3 separate regions of the Homo sapiens genome follow, and regions 2 and 3 are each linked to region 1. Evidence: promoter capture Hi-C in 16 types of primary human blood cells and fetal thymus (Javierre and others, 2016). All regions are on one chromosome and are shown on one strand. Each heading gives the region's core, a stretch centred on a gene start or on the middle of the fragment in contact. The rest is flanking DNA. Distances are from core to core; before and after follow the strand shown.

Region 1 (5,073 bases), core at 1,019-3,518:
TTTCTTCAAGCAACACTCCCACCTAGGCCTCCCAAAGTTCTGGGATCACAGCTCCACTGTCCCCAGCTCCAATTTTTAGTTAAATCAATACTTAGTGTTTACATCGTTACGGCTGTGAAAATTTTCTTCACAGCTGAGCCATTTGTGTTTGTGCTAAGACTGTGAATCTGTAAAAACTGCTTTTGTTAATTAACATCCAGGACATACGGCTGAGAAACTTCATTTTCTAAAATCATAGTCACAAACTTTGCTATTTGAAATCAGTCAGTGCGAATGGAACATCCTACTCTTGCCAGAAGTTCTGAGCCACGTGGATTACTTTGGCCTCCCAAAGTGTTGGGATTACAGGCACGAGCCACTGTGCCCAGCCTAGATAGTGGGTTTTTGGACACTATATTCTATATTTATCTTGACTTTGTAATTTCCAAGTGGTCCCTCAGCTTGGACTTCTTGATCCCTTCACTTAAAGTTATGCTTACCTCGAACCGATCAAAACACTGTTTCATTTAAATTTTAGCTAGCCTATAGTATCAGCCACTTGGGAGGCTGAGGCAGGAGGATCACTTGAGCCCAGAAGTTTGAGCTTCGCCTGGGCAACATACCGAGACTTCAACTCTAAATAAATAAGTAAATAAATTTTAAAATATAAATTTTAAAGTCAAGCCTTTCCCATATCCTGTTGTATTAGTTCATTTTCACATTACTGATAAAGACATACCCGAAACTGCAAACAAAAAGAGGTTTAATTGGACTTACAGTTCCACATTGCTGGGGAGGCCTCAGAATCATGGCGGGAGACAAAGGCACTTCTTACATGGCGGTGGCAAGAGAAAAATGAGGAAGAAGCAAAAGCAGAAACCCCTGATGAACTCATCAGATCTTGTGAGACTTATTCACTATCATGAAAATAGCACGGGAAAGTCTGGCCCCCGTGATTCAATTACCTCCCCTTAGGTCCCTCGCACGTGGGAATTCTGGGAGATACACATCAACTTGAAATTTGGGTGGGGACACAGCCAAACCATATCATCTGAATGACCATATTTCTTCCTTTTTAATGAGTTGCCCCACAGTTCTTCTAGTGTGTGATCTCTCTGTTGTGGCAAGTTAATAAACCTAACTGTCAAACTACAGATGTGGTCTTTATAAGACAGGCTTATCAATTGTCTTTCCTTTCTTATATAACTCTTTGTTTCCTCTGAAGTTGATAATTGCCTAACCTTTTCTCTTACTTTGTTCTCTCTCTCTCTTTCTCTCTATACATAATAAATTCATCCCCAAAACTGTTCTAAAGAATTATACTCTTTCTTTCAATGCCTTCACCACTTCAGGTAATTCTTCTGGTCTTTCTTTTCTTTTCTTTTTTTTTGAAACCCAGACTCCTGGAGCCCTTCTTCCTCTGGCTCCAAGTTATATTGGTTGTTGTCCTTGTAAAAATATGACTACCTCTGTTCTAACAATAATCTCAAGCCTTCATGGTTAGTTGTCAATGCAACTGCTTCACTGACTCCTGCTTTCCCCCTCCACCTGAAAGGGGTCGAGTCTCTTGACATCTCTGTATCTCCAAAGTCTATCATGGTAATCAAGAAATGTTCTGGCCGGGCGCTGTGGCTCATGCCTGTAATCCTAGCACTTTGGAAGGCTGAGGTGGGCCAGTCACTTGAGGTCAGGAGTTTGAGACCAGCCTGGCCAACATAGTGAAATCCCCGTTCTCTGCTAAAAATAAAAAAATTAGCCCGGCGTGGTGGCGCGCGCCTGTAATCCCAGCTGCTCGGGAGACAGAGGTTGCAGTGAGCTGAGATCGAGCCACTGTACTCCAGCATGGGCAACAGAGCGAGACTTTGTCTCAAAAAAAAAAAAAAAAAAAAAAAAAAAAAAAAGGAGTTCTGTCCCGCCTAGGCACTATAGAGAGACCCTGTCAAGAATGGAAAGAAAGAAATCTTCGAATGAATGAACTAGTGAATGAAGGAATGGATTTCAGCGCTGGAGAATTGAGTTTAAGGGGAATGGTATTATATTCCCATCTTGTTGCAACATTTAAGGATGTCCTCAAGCCCCACGCCAGCCTGGAGCGTAGCCCAAGGTGGGAAAGCAGCGCCGAGGCCTCTCCAGACCCGGCCTGCTCCCCGTTTGCGGAGCACAGCCCACTGTACCCCCGCCTAGATTGAGGCGCTGGCCAGGAGTACACCAGGCGCCGCCATGTGAACTACAACTCCCAGAAGGCCGCGCGGAAGCGGAACGTGAACCAGGGAGGACTTCCGGACGCCAACATCCGGGCCGCGCGGGGAAGGGGAGACGTGGGGTAGAGGTAAGTGTAGGTTGAAGGCTGAATGGGGAGGGCGAGAGATGGGGAGTGGGTCTCAAATATAGAGGGGGTAGCAAGGTGGAAGGGGCCCTTCCACCTTTTGTGGGCACTCAAGTTCGGACCTCTGGGATCGGCGATTCCCCTCTGGCCAGGGCTGGTTTTAATGCTCTCCGTGGGCGGGCTTCGGTTGAGTTTGGTCCGCTTTTCCTTTCTGCTCCTCAGGGGAGCATTGCTTCCTTCTCTCGCAGTGACCATGACGAAATTAGCGCAGTGGCTTTGGGGACTAGCGATCCTGGGCTCCACCTGGGTGGCCCTGACCACGGGAGCCTTGGGCCTGGAGCTGCCCTTGTCCTGCCAGGAAGTCCTGTGGCCACTGCCCGCCTACTTGCTGGTGTCCGCCGGCTGCTATGCCCTGGGCACTGTGGGCTATCGTGTGGCCACTTTTCATGACTGCGAGGACGCCGCACGCGAGCTGCAGAGCCAGATACAGGAGGCCCGAGCCGACTTAGCCCGCAGGGGGCTGCGCTTCTGACAGCCTAACCCCATTCCTGTGCGGACAGCCCTTCCTCCCATTTCCCATTAAAGAGCCAGTTTATTTTCTAACTTCGTTTAGTTTGAGTATGGAAAACGGGTATTGGGGATTCTATGTACTAACGGTCGAGAAGTGAATGTGAAAGAACCACCTTCTTGAGGCCATCTCAGCCTTTATCTTTGCATCTTGCTGGTGTTCCCATTTTTGCTCCCAAGGAGGCAAAGACCCCTTCTCAATATTTCTCAGGATGGAAATGACATTTCACTTTCCTGGTCCTTTCAACCCTGTAGGAAGTACTTCTTTTTTTTTTTTTTTGAGACGGAGCCTTGCTCTGTCGTCCAGGCTGGAGTGCAGTGGCGTGATCTCGGCTCACTGCAAGCTCCGCCTCCCGGGTTCACGCCATTCTCCTGCCTCAGCCTCCTGAGTAGCTGGGACTACAGGCGCCTGCCACCACGCCTGGCTAATTTTTTGTATTTTTAGTAGAGTCGGGGTTTCACCGTGTTGGCCAGGATGGTCTGATCTCCTGACCTCGTAATCCGCCCGCCTCGGCCTCCCAAAGTGCTGGGATTACAGGTGTGAGTCACCGCGCCCGGCGTACTACTTCTTTTTTTTTTTTTTTTTGAGACAGGGTCTCACTCTGTTGCCCAGGCTGGAGTGCAGTGGTGCAATCATGGCTCACTGCAGCCTCACCCTCCCAGGCTCAAACAGTTCTCCCACCTCAGCCTCCAGAGTAGCTGGGACTACAGGCATATGCCACCACGCCACCAGGCTAATGTTTAATTTTTTGTAGTGACAGGGTCTCGCTGTGTTGCTCAGGCTGTTCTCAAACTCCTGGGCTCAAGTGATCCTCCTGCCTGGGCCTCCCAAAGTGCTGTGATTACAGACATAAGCCACCTTACCCGGCCAGAAGTACTTTCTTGAAGCCTAAGTTCCATTCTTCATAACATCCAAGTTTTGTTATTTTTAAGGCCTTCCTGGGTCTTTCCAACCTTTTGGTTCTTTGAGATACCTTTTCTGAGCCTACCCTACCAACCTGAGAATAACTGTGGATCTATCCTTCACCAAACCAGGCAGGTTTAGAATTATGAGTAGAGAATGAACCATCGTGGGCAGGGGTGGGGAACACTTTATTTTAAGGCATATTCATATCAGCATATAAGGCATATTCATATCACAATGGCACGATCTCAGCTCACTGCAACCTCCACCTCCTGGGTTCAAGCAATTCTCCTGCCTCAGCCTCCCAAGTATCTGGGATTACAGGCATGTGCCATCATGCCTGGCTAATTTTGTATTTTTAGTAGAGATGGGGTTTCACCATGTTAGTCAGGTTGGTCTTGAACTCCTGACCTCAGGCGATCCGCCCACCTTGGCCTCCCAAAGTGCTGGGATTACAGGCGTGAGCCACCGCGCCCGGCCTTTTAAGGCATATTCTAAAGATTGCACCCCAACCTCCAAAATTAAAAAAAAAAATCTCTAAAAAATAAAAAGTGATTTCATCTCCTAGGCCCCAATCAATCATCTAAGTAAAGCTTTTTCTTTGGTCCTTTTATCCTCAAAGTCATCTCTTGTTCCCACAACCCACTGCACCTGGGAAGCTGGACAGCAGGCCCAGCTGAAACAAGGAGGTCTCTTTGGTTCAGGTTGGCACTAAGGTGCCCAGTGGTCAGATGAGCAGCCTCAGGTTTGCAGGAGCCAGTAGTTCCTGTCTTGCTCCTGGGGGTACTTCCAGAAAAGCCAGAAGCGGATAAAGCTGGTGACGATTCCTGGAAAGTTGGACACCTGAAATCACAAGAACTGCTATGAGGAGAGGAGCCAGTTTTCCATCTTGCACCCCTGTCACCCCATCCCAGTTGTGCTTACCATGATATAGGGATCTCTGAGTCGAAACCCATAGAGGCACCAGGAGGCAGAGGTGAGAAGGGTAGCAATGGTGAGTGGGTAGGAGAGACATTGGGTTGATTTAGTTTGAATCACCTTAGCCTGTGGGAAAGAATGGAAGACTCTCTTGGCCCAAGCACATCGTAAAGCTTCACTTGCCTAAGAATTTCCTCAAGAAAAAGGTCAGACACCCTCCCTGATCTGTCACCCAACCTTTCCTGCCTCCCACTCGCCCACTTCTACTGCCTTGTCTTCTTCCAGGGTTTGGATCTCCCCTTCCTCGGGACTGTAAGCCATAGTATTTGGCTATGAGAGCCTGACTCTTATCTCTCCTACCTCCTTGGACACCCCCACT
Region 2 (5,073 bases), core at 1,026-3,525, 800 kb before region 1:
ACCCGGGAAGCGGAGGTTGCAGTGAGCTGAGATCACACCACTGCACTCCAGCCTGGGCGACAGAACGAGACTCTGTCTCAAACAAACAAACAAACAAACAAGAATAATAGCTAACAGTATATTTCACTGTTAAATCTTTAGTAGCCCATTTTACAGTTGAGAACAGTGAGGTACAAAGAGGTAAAGTAATTTGCTGGAGGTAAAGCTGTGAATCCAGGTGCTCTGACACTCAAATTGATACTCTGGGCTTTGCATTTGGGGCAGGGAGGACTAGCACCACTTTCTGAGGTCTCTGCTTTTCTGGCTCTACCTGCAGCCTGTTCTCCCAGCCCCCTCCCCTCTTTAATCGCTCACCTCCCTTCACCCCACCCATGTCTTTGACTTGTCATTATCTTCACTTCTTTCAAATCCTGATTTAAAGGGAGACACACAGGCACTCCCGTCAGCACCAGGGTTTTACACCCAGGGCCTGGCAGGTGCTGGAAATTCCAGCAATACCCCACACCTGGCATCCCTTCAAGGGAACTACAGCTTTTGCAGCTGAGGCCTCTGCAGGCAGCAAGTTTCAGTGGTCACCACTGAGATGGTAAGGTGAGGACAGGGGAAGCTGGCATTTTTGGCCTTGATACCGGAGAAAGACAAGGGATACCCTGTTTTGAGGTGGGGGGTGGGTACAGAGAGAGATGGGCACTGACCTCTGATTCATTAGCCTAGAACCCTTAGGGAAGTTTTCCTAGGTATTCTTGCAGAAAGCAGAAATGGAGCAACGAATCCTTTTGTTCCATACTGAACTGGAGGTGGAACTGGGATAAAAGGTCAAGACAATTTGTGGATAATCCAGAGGTTTATTCTCAGATCCTCTTCTTTCCCATCTCCAAATAAAGACTTAAGCTTTGTCACATCCAGCTCTGATCTGAGCCCCCGCCTCCCCCATTCACCACACCCAGAGTTGGGGATCAAAGATCAGACTTTTCCCTGAGGGCACTGCAGCCTGGCAGAGAGGGCAGCTTCTCCCCAGGACTCAAGGATCCTACACTTGGTGGATCTCAGAAAGAGGAGTGTGTTCAGCTTGCGCCCTTCACCCGGGTGTCCCTCTGTCCAGGTTGGTGAGCAGGGTAGAAGGGCGGCTCTCCCGGGGGTTGCTTGCGACCCACCGCCTGCCTACCTGCTTTAGGGCCACCTGTTGCACCCAGCCTCCGCCCTGGGGCCACAGCCTCAACCGCAGATCCCTGAAGGTGCCTGCCAGAGCCTGCCGGGGCTCCCGCCTCAGGAGACAGTACAGCACAGGGTTGAGGCAGCTATTGCTGTGTGCCAAGCAAGTAGTGACAGGGAAGACATACGTCTGGATAGTATAGAAAGTACTGTTCCAGGGCACCAGGTCAAACTTCACCAGGACACCCCAGAGAGTGACCACATGGTTGGGAAACCAGCAGAGGAAGAAGGAAGCCACCAGGATGCGGACAGAGCGGGCCACGACCCTGCTGTCCTGCCGCCGCCGTTGCCGCCGCTGCAGGAAGGCCAGCAGCAGCAGGTAGCTGGTGGTGATGACGCCCAAGGGCACCATGAAAGCCAGCACCACCCTCTGCAGCTGGTAGGCCCCCAGCCAGTACCTGCTGGGGAAACGCAGCAGGCAAAGGCGCACACCACACACCTCACCCTCCACCCCGAAGACAGCTGTGGGCACCGTCACCAGGGCAGCCGCCGCCCACACTGCCAGGGTGGCTATTCGGGCCCAGAAGAGTGAGAGGTGGGTGCCTGGCCCCGCAGCCATGGCCACCACCCAGTAGCGAGCAACGCTCAGCGCTGTGATGAGGAAGATGCTGGCATAGACGTTGAGGACAGTGGCCGTCAGAACCATCTTGCAGAGGGCACCTCCGAAGGGCCAGTGAAAGTCCAGTGCCGACTCGGCTGCCCAAAAGGGGAGAGTGAGTGCCAGTCCCAGGTCCGCCAGAGCCAGGTTGAAGACGAAGGTGTCTGAAGGTGGGCCAGGGGCTCTCCGGGCACAGTTACTCAGTACCCACAGCACCGCCAAATTTCCCAGCAAGCCAATGGCCCCCACAAGCCCATAGGCCAGGGCAACCATGAGCCTCAGGGCTAGGAATTTGACAGGCATCGGAGCATCATCAGCACTCAGCACACTGCCTCCGGAGGCATTGGCCCAGAAGAATGTGGGTGGAGAGGCAGAAGTATTGAGTGTGGGCATCGCAGGGCATCAGAGATTGGTGGTGCTGAGAAGAGAGGTCTGCAAGTGTCTGCCAGACTGGCAGAGGCCACTGAAGGCTCTAGGAAGGAGGCTGTAGAATTAAGTGCTTCTCTGGGGCCTCTGGTGAGCCCTGGCCCACGCCCACACCTCAGAGGGAGGGGTGTGGAAAGGACAACCCACCACCTTCCTGTTGGTCAAGATTGGTGGTAGGTGGGGCAGGGCGAGGCACAGCCTGAATGCCAGGGTATATGTGCATGCGCCCGCCTGTAAGAGGGGCTCTAAATGGCAGAGAGGGAGGGGAGAAGGGAGAGTTACCCCGCTATGGAGGGCAGCCCCAAGCCTCCACCCCAGGGAGAGAGCTGGAGGTTCCCTGTCCCAGAGATGACAGGAACCAAACTAGAGCTGCCTCTGTTCCTAACAGTGCAGAGGCCTCCCTCCTCTGCAGAAAGTGTTCCCTTGGGGCCCAAAGCAAGGGGCCTGGGAGGTGGCATAGAGGCAGGGAATCAGCATGGGTGTCCAAGAGAGGAAAGAGCGGAGGCTGCGGAGTCCCAGACCTGCTGCTCACTAGCCGTGTGACTGGGAGAGTTACTTTACTCCCCTAAGCCTGTTTTCTTGCTTAAAATTTTCAGGTAAGTCTGCTTCACAGGAGTGGCATGATGCAATGAGAGAACACATGTGAAATAGCAATTTGTATGAATATTATTTCAAAGGAGAAGTTTGGGGTGTTTGTGGCAGAAGGGTACTGAGAGGCTATTACCATGCCCAGGGAACAGTGCCAACTAAAACAGGTTGGAATTCATCTCAGCAGCAGTGACCTTGAGGCTAAGAGCAGGGAGGGAAAAGAGAGAGGAAGTCACAGCTTCCTGTTTCCTCCCCACTGGGAACACTGGGCCTATGAGGGCCTGTGTGGACCTGGGCATGCCCTCAGTTCTGTTCCTGCTCCTGATAATTAAACATTCCTGCTAACCTCTATCGCCGCCTTTCCCCCCTTTCCTGCTCTAGTCTGTGGACAGAGCTCAGCGGTCCCCCTACTCTCTCCTGCAAACCCCATGTCAGAGCTAAGGATCCTGAGATACGCCCTCACCACACCTCATCCTGTCTCCCCATGATCTCAATCATAACTGGAAAAAAAAAATGCTTCATTGGGCCCTCCCCTTTCATTGCCTACATCTCTACCTACTGCAGAAGGAGCTGAGGTGGGGACAAAGAGAAGGCAGGAGGTGGATAGGTAAAAGAGTAAGGCTTTCTCAAGGATTCCAATATATTCAGCCCCTTCTTGCCCTCTGCCAGCTAATTAAGATAACGTTCGATGTTCAGTTCCTTTGGAGTGCTGAGGGAAGAGAGGGGCCCTTTGCGACAATAAATCAGCAGTGGGCTTGTGAACACATAGGAGAAACCCAGAGGTGAGAGTGATACAGGCTGGGTGCCAACATGTTGGGGCTTTCGAACCAGGGATGAGTATAAAGGGGGTGGCAGAAGGGGAGTGCCCAGCCCAAGGTCAGGTGAGCCCCACAGGCTACCTTCTGGCCTCATGGCTGCTCCTGTGTGACTGTGTCATCACTGTCTCTCGGGGCCATGTCTACTCCTCTGCCCACCCAGAATCACCCTGCTAATCTGGCAATTAAGATAACTGCTTGGCCAGACGAGGTGGCTCATGCCTGTAATCCCAGCACTTTGGGAGGCCGAGGTGAGCGAATCACCTGAGGTCGGGAGTTCAAGACCAGCCTGACCAACATGGGGAAAGCCCGTCTCTACTAAAAATACAAAATTAGTGGCGCGTGGTGGCGAGTGCCTGTAATCACAGCTACTCGGGAGGCTGAGGCAGGAGAATCACTTGAACCCGGGAGGCAGAGATTTTGGTGAGCTGAGATCACACCACTGCACTCCAGCCTGGGCGACAGAGCGAGACTCCATCTCAAAAAAAAAAAAAAATTTTTTTTCTTTTTTTCTTTTTTTTTTGGTTGAGAAGAGGTCTCACTCTGTCACCCAGGCTGGAGTGCAGTGGCACAATCTTGGCTCAGTGCCTCGACCTCCCCAGGCTCAGGTGATCCTCCTACCTCAGCCACAGGAATGTGCTACCACACAGGCTAATTTTTGTATTTTTAGGAGAGATGGGGTATCCCTATGTTGCCCAGGATTGTCTTGAACTCCTGGGCTCAAGCAACCCTCTCACCTCACCCTCCCAAAGTGCTGGGATTACAGCCATAAGCCACCACGCCTAGCATCAAAAATATTCTTGAAATGACCTCAGGTGATCCTCCTGCCTTGGCCTCCCAAAGTGCTGGGATTACAGGCATGTCAGGAGATCGAGACCATCCTGGCTAACATGGTGAAACCCCATCTCTAAAAAAAAAAAATACAAAAATTAGCCGGGTGTGGTGGCAGGTGCCTGTAGTCCCAGCTACTCGGGAGGCTGAGGCAGGAGAATGGTATGAACCCGGGAGGTGGAGCTTGCAGTGAGCCGAGATCGTGCCACTGCACTCCAGCCTGGGCGACAGAGTGAGACTCCGTCTCAAAAAAAAAAAAAAAAAAAAATCAGCTGGTCATGGTGACACTTTGGGAGGCTGAGGCGAATGGATTGCTTGAGCCCAGTAATTCAAGACCAGTCTGGGCAACATGGCAAAACCCCATCTCTACAAAAGATAACAAAAAATTAGCCAGGCATGGTGGTTCATGCCTGTGGTTCCAGCTACTTGGTTCCAGCTACTCTACTAAAAATACAAAACAACAACAACAAAAAATTAGCTGGGCGTGGTGGCGGGCACCTGTGATGTGGGAGGATCACCTGAGACTGGGAGGTCAAAGCTGGAGTGAGCTGTGATCATGCCACCGCACTCCAGCCTGGGTGACAGAGTGAGACCCCCGTCTCA
Region 3 (5,073 bases), core at 1,291-3,790, 580 kb after region 1:
CGCCTCCCGGGTTCACGCCATTCTCCTGCCTCAGCCTCCCGAGTAGCTGGGACTCCAGGCGCCTGCCACGACGCCCGGCTAATTTTTTATATTTTGTTTAGTAGAGACGGGGTTTCACCGTTAGTGAGAATGGTCTCAATCTGCTGACCTTGTGATCCGCCCGCCTCGGCCTCCCAAAGTGCTGGGATTACAAGCGTGAGTCACCGCGCCCGGCCGATCTTTTAAATTTTTAAATCAGCTCATGCCACTCCCTGCTTAAAATCCTCCAGGAGTTTCCCACTGTGCTTTAAATAAAACCCAAACAATGTACTGTGGTCTCCATAATCTAGCCCCTGCTTTCTTCACTGGACTCATCTCCTACCCTTCTCTCCTTTCACTAGACACAAGCCTTGCTGAGCCCCAATTTTTAAAAAAATGTTTGAGTTCTTACCATGGGCACTATTTTATGCACTTTACGTGTGTTCTTACATAATCCTCCTAACAAGTAAGTACTATTATGATCTCCATTTTACAGGTGTGAAAACTAAGGCACAAACAAGCTAAGTAATTTCCCCACAGTCACATCATTAGTAGTTGGCAGAGCTGGGGTTCAACACACTAAAAAAGGCAGAGTAGGGTACAAGGGCATGGACTTTGGAGACAGGCCTAGGAACTCTGTTTACAGACTGTATATCCTTACAGAGTCACTCCTTTTCCCCAGTTGTAAACAGGGGTAAAAATACTTACCTTGCAATGTTGTTGGGAGATTTACAAATATTTGCACCTGGGCACAGTGGCTCACACCTGCAATCCCAGCACCTTGGGAGGCCGAGATGGGCAGATCACTTGAGCCCAGGAGTTTGAGACCAGTCTGGGCAACATACCAAGACCCCTTTCTACAAAAAAAATACGAAAATTACCCAGCTGTGGTAGCATGCGCCTGTAATCCCAGCTACTTGGGAGGCTGAGGTGGGAGGATAGCTTGAGGTCTCCCGAGGCTGCAGTGAGCTGAGATTGTGCCCCTGCACTCCAGGGCGAGAGAGCAAGACCCTGTCTTAAAATAAATAAATAAATAAATAAATAAATAAATATATATATATATATATATATATATATATTTGCAAAACACCTTCGCTCAGGAAATAATTAACAGGAATTCCCACCACAGCCTTTTATGCTATCAGCTTGCACACACAGACACAAAGTCAACATGTAGCAAACTGTTCAGGCTACCTAAACCAGATAAATGGCCCCACGAAGACCAGGAACAGACTATAATCGTCTTTAAATACCCATACCCCAACTTGACCAAAGGAGGCCTCTGCAGAGGCAATTGAATAGTCTTCCAGCAAAGGCTAGCTCATTTTAGTACAAGTGGGAGAGAAACGGGGCAATCTGACCAGTGGTTTAAGGGCTGAGTTGGCCCAGCAGAATTGACTAGGCCTTACCACAGGCTAATAACACTTGCCCTTGGCAAAACGAACGCCAGCTCGGGATTTCTGTAGCTTCAACCAGCTTTGTCCTTTGTGATAGTGCCACCTAGCGAGGGTCCGGAGGCACTACCTACTCCTGGCAGCTGCCAAGACCACTGCGACAAGGTGTTAGCCATTTAGGCCTAGGAAAGGGAATGGGGACCACCCGAGTCAGCACTCCTTCCATGACTCTGTGGAGGAAGCCCATGCTGTCCTTCCCCCAACCTCGTCCAGACCCATGGGGTCTGAAAAGCGCGAAAGGCCTGATATTAACTAACACTTGTACATAACACAGCAGTGATCTATTATCATTCCTCATTTTATGGTGTCCTCGCATCGAATCCCTCCCTGGGAATAGGAAAAACAGGCATCATTCTCATGAGAGCCATTGTACAGATGAGGAAACTGAGACTCGGCGGGAAAGTGGTTAACCCAAGGTCACAAAACGCCATGAGAGCCAGGGCTGGGACGAGAATCCACGCCTCTTCCATTCCGGTTCCCGGCTCCTACCCCGACCACCCACCCGAGTGTGAAGACACAGCATGCCCACCCCCACGGGGAGCAGAGGCTCCAGGATCCTGCGCCGAAGACCAGCATGTGGGAGCAGGATAAAGACTGCACGGGGAAGACAGCACTTCTTTCTTCTCTGTCCATGGAGTGCCGGGCACGCTCGCCACGGCTCGGGGGCGGGGGAAGCGGCGCCCGGGGCAGGAAACAGCGTCCTGCGCGGGTAGCCCCTGGGAGCACGCGGCACCGAGTCACGTGAGAGGGGAGCGCAGGCGAAGGGGCGTCGCGCGCAAGCACGCACGACATACGCAAACTCGCACTGAGGCGCCCACAGAGGCAAGCCCCAGGCCCCGGGTCACATGTGGAGGGTGGCAGGCGAGAACAGGGGGGCGGGAAAGACGGAGAGATCACGTGGAGGAGGCCAGAGCAGGGAAGTCACGTGAGGGGGACGGAGGCGGGGCCGCCTAGGAGGAGGAGGAGGAGGAGGGGCGCGCGGCTTCCGGCGGCTGGGGGGGCCAGCGAGCGGAGGGGGGGGCCTGTCCCGGAGGTGGCGGCGGCGCCATCTTGGCGAAGGGGGGATCAGGAAGTGCGGACCGCGGCGGCGGCGGCGGCGGCGGCGGCGGCGGCGGAGCCCGGAGCGCAGGCCGGAGGCTCCCGGCCCGCCGGCCCCGGAGCGGAGCGGAGCGGAGGATGCAGCAGCCGCAGCCGCAGGGGCAGCAGCAGCCGGGGCCGGGGCAGCAGCTGGGGGGCCAGGGGGCGGCGCCGGGGGCCGGGGGCGGCCCAGGGGGGGGCCCGGGGCCGGGGCCCTGCCTGAGGCGAGAGCTGAAGCTGCTCGAGTCCATCTTCCACCGCGGCCACGAGCGCTTCCGCATTGCCAGCGCCTGCCTGGACGAGCTGAGCTGCGAGTTCCTGCTGGCTGGGGCCGGAGGGGCCGGGGCGGGGGCCGCGCCCGGACCGCATCTCCCCCCACGGGGGTCGGTGCCTGGGGATCCTGTCCGCATCCACTGCAACATCACGGTGAGGACCCCCTCGCGTGCGCCTCTGTGGGGGCCCCTTGTCAGGGACCCAGGATCACTCCATCCAGCTTTTTGCTCTCGAAGGACCTGGGAGGCCGAAGCCCCTCTCAGGGCTCAGTTCTTTCTCTCCAGGTTACATTTGTTTCTGCTGCTTGAGGTTATGCAGTGCACCCAGAATCTCTACCATTGACCCCAATAGCAAGGGACACCCCGACATATGGCGCCTAGACTACCCGTTTCCACGAACCCACCCACATCCCAAGGTTCATGATTTTGGCTCTTTTTGGCTACTCCTCCACAACTTTACCTTGCCACCTAGGAATGCGTCTTTCTTCCCCTTACTCTTATTTCAAGGTTTTAGGCCTCGGCACTGACCCTAACTGCAAAGACCTGGCCTGAAACTCACTGCACATTTCAGCGATGCCCCCTTCTCAGTAGTACCTCTGACTTAGGAGGTTGCCACCTGTGGGATCCCCGCCTAGGCATCCCTCATGCAGACCCTCTTGCTCTCTCAACTTCACCAAGTGATAGTTTGCAATTCATTGACTCCTCTTCCTTCTCTCCTTTGGATTCTTTTTCTGGTGTAACCTCTAACTCTCCTCTTTTTGCCTCAGCTGGTAGCAGTTCTGCCACTCCCCTGCCTGTTCCCTATGGATATGTCCATTTGCCCTGGGTTGTTGCTTTTCCTGGTAATGATAGTGATGTGATGTGCGAGGGCTACCCCCATTTATTCTAAGCAGTAACAGTTGCATTTCTCCCCTGTGAGCGTCATTCCATCCTAGGCATACACCTTACATGTCTCCTGCCTGGTCTACCCTCAGACATCCCTTGAACAGAGAATTGGCTTCTGCTAATTTGGGAATGTCTGGTACTGCATGCTATAGCACTTATATTGGTTGATGTTACCTGCTGTGATGGTATTCTCTCTACCGGAGCAGTAGCTGAAATGCTAGCAGACAGTACTTTATCCAGGCAGGCAGACCTAATCGGAGTAGCCTGGGGAAAGGCAGAGTTGTGAATTCTCTGCTACTTGGGGGCCTGAATTCAACTTACTGGTGTTTTCTGTCCGTTTTCTCAATCAAACCAAGTTAAGATTTGGTGAGGTAAAGCCTCAGTTTGGATTGATTGGTGCCCCACCAAAACTCATATGTCCCATTTCTCTTTTCATTTCCTTTCTTTTTTCCTGCTAGAAAGTTAAAATTGAAGGACTAGGAGTGGCTTAGTTAAGTGAAGACTTGGGCATCTTTGATAATTATTTTTCCTCCAGCATTGAGGATTAGAGTCATGGCAATGCTAAGATACCCAGTAGAGGTGGATAAGGTTTCCCTGGCTTGTGTGGGAACCTCGAGTTAATTTTGTTCCTGAATTAAGCTTCTAATTCCTTAAGGGTAGGTTTGCCCCTATCCAGCTGCTCTTTCTGTTGCCAGAGGCCATTTACTGCGTTTGTCCCTGGCAGGAAGTTAAATTTAGGGGGTCCTCAGCCAGACTCCCCATGGCTATAAAGGAGACTTGGCCTAAACTAGCCCCCTTGGTTTGGGCAGAGAGGGAGTCTGGTCAGGCTGCATTTGGCACCGTGGCTCAGGAATGCTGGGAATGTCAGTAGCGTAGGCTTCTTTCTCCCAGCCTGCCATGTGGAGCCCTACAGCCCACGCCTGGACTGAGAAGGTGGCAGGTTCCCAAGGGAGAGGTGGGGAGAATTGGTCTTTGAGGGGCTCTTCTGGAAGTGGTGTGGGTAGATTCTTGCCAGTACCCTTTTACTCTTGGGTTCTGGAGATACAGTCTAGTTTTTATACTTCTTCCCTACTGAACTCTGCTTTTTTCACTTCAGTGTCATTGTGATGAGGTGATCCCTTCCTCAGCCGATTCTGGAGTTTGAAAAGCAAGCTTGGAGGACTGTTCTGGGTCCAGGGAGAACTTGAAGTCTAGAACTTGTATAGGCAGTGCAGGAGATGAGGAGTCCCCCTTCGCTGTTAGCCAAGTTTGGCTGTGCTAGGTTTCCTGGTTTGTACTCTCGAGGAAAGAAAGAAAAGGTTTCAGTCTGCTTCTCGGAAAGGGTCTTCCCAGGGACTGTTTTTCTTCCAGTTTAGAATTTGTTGTGA

The links. Contacts are between HindIII fragments. The CHiCAGO score rates a contact against its expected background, and 5 or more counts as called.
Region 2: a contact is called between the fragment with the promoter of RXFP4 here and the fragment with the promoter of DPM3 in region 1, in 2 of 17 cell types (neutrophils and monocytes). The highest score is 5.3, in neutrophils.
Region 3: the fragment with the promoter of UBE2Q1 here is called in contact with the fragment with the promoter of DPM3 in region 1 in 5 of 17 cell types (neutrophils, total B cells, fetal thymus and 2 more); the score reaches 12.7 in neutrophils.

What each region holds. Positions count from the first base shown.
Region 1 is chr1:155,137,726-155,142,798 of GRCh38, reverse strand. It overlaps DPM3 (dolichyl-phosphate mannosyltransferase subunit 3, regulatory), which reads left to right and starts at 2,268. Exons shown (of 2, transcript NM_153741.2): 1 at 2,268-2,308; 2 at 2,554-2,908. The coding sequence starts at 2,559. The coding sequence ends at 2,837. SLC50A1 (solute carrier family 50 member 1) reads right to left here. Exons shown (of 6, transcript NM_018845.4): 5 at 4,701-4,820; 6 at 3,946-4,619. The coding sequence ends at 4,518. RefSeq lists enhancers at 1,969-2,028, 2,199-2,328. The HindIII fragment of the contact is 26,354 bases long and covers 1-4,371 here.
Region 2 is chr1:155,938,840-155,943,912 of GRCh38, reverse strand. It overlaps RXFP4 (relaxin family peptide/INSL5 receptor 4), which reads right to left and starts at 2,275. Exons shown (of 1, transcript NM_181885.3): 1 at 826-2,275. The coding sequence starts at 2,203. The coding sequence ends at 1,079. RefSeq lists an enhancer at 1,722-2,221 and a silencer at 2,541-2,835. The HindIII fragment of the contact is 9,136 bases long and covers 894-5,073 here.
Region 3 is chr1:154,556,129-154,561,201 of GRCh38, reverse strand. UBE2Q1 (ubiquitin conjugating enzyme E2 Q1) reads left to right here and starts at 2,540. Exons shown (of 13, transcript NM_017582.7): 1 at 2,540-2,975. The coding sequence starts at 2,649. RefSeq lists enhancers at 1,524-2,104, 2,105-2,686 and silencers at 2,056-2,145, 2,266-2,355, 2,446-2,525, 2,846-2,945. The HindIII fragment of the contact is 10,457 bases long and covers 1-4,347 here.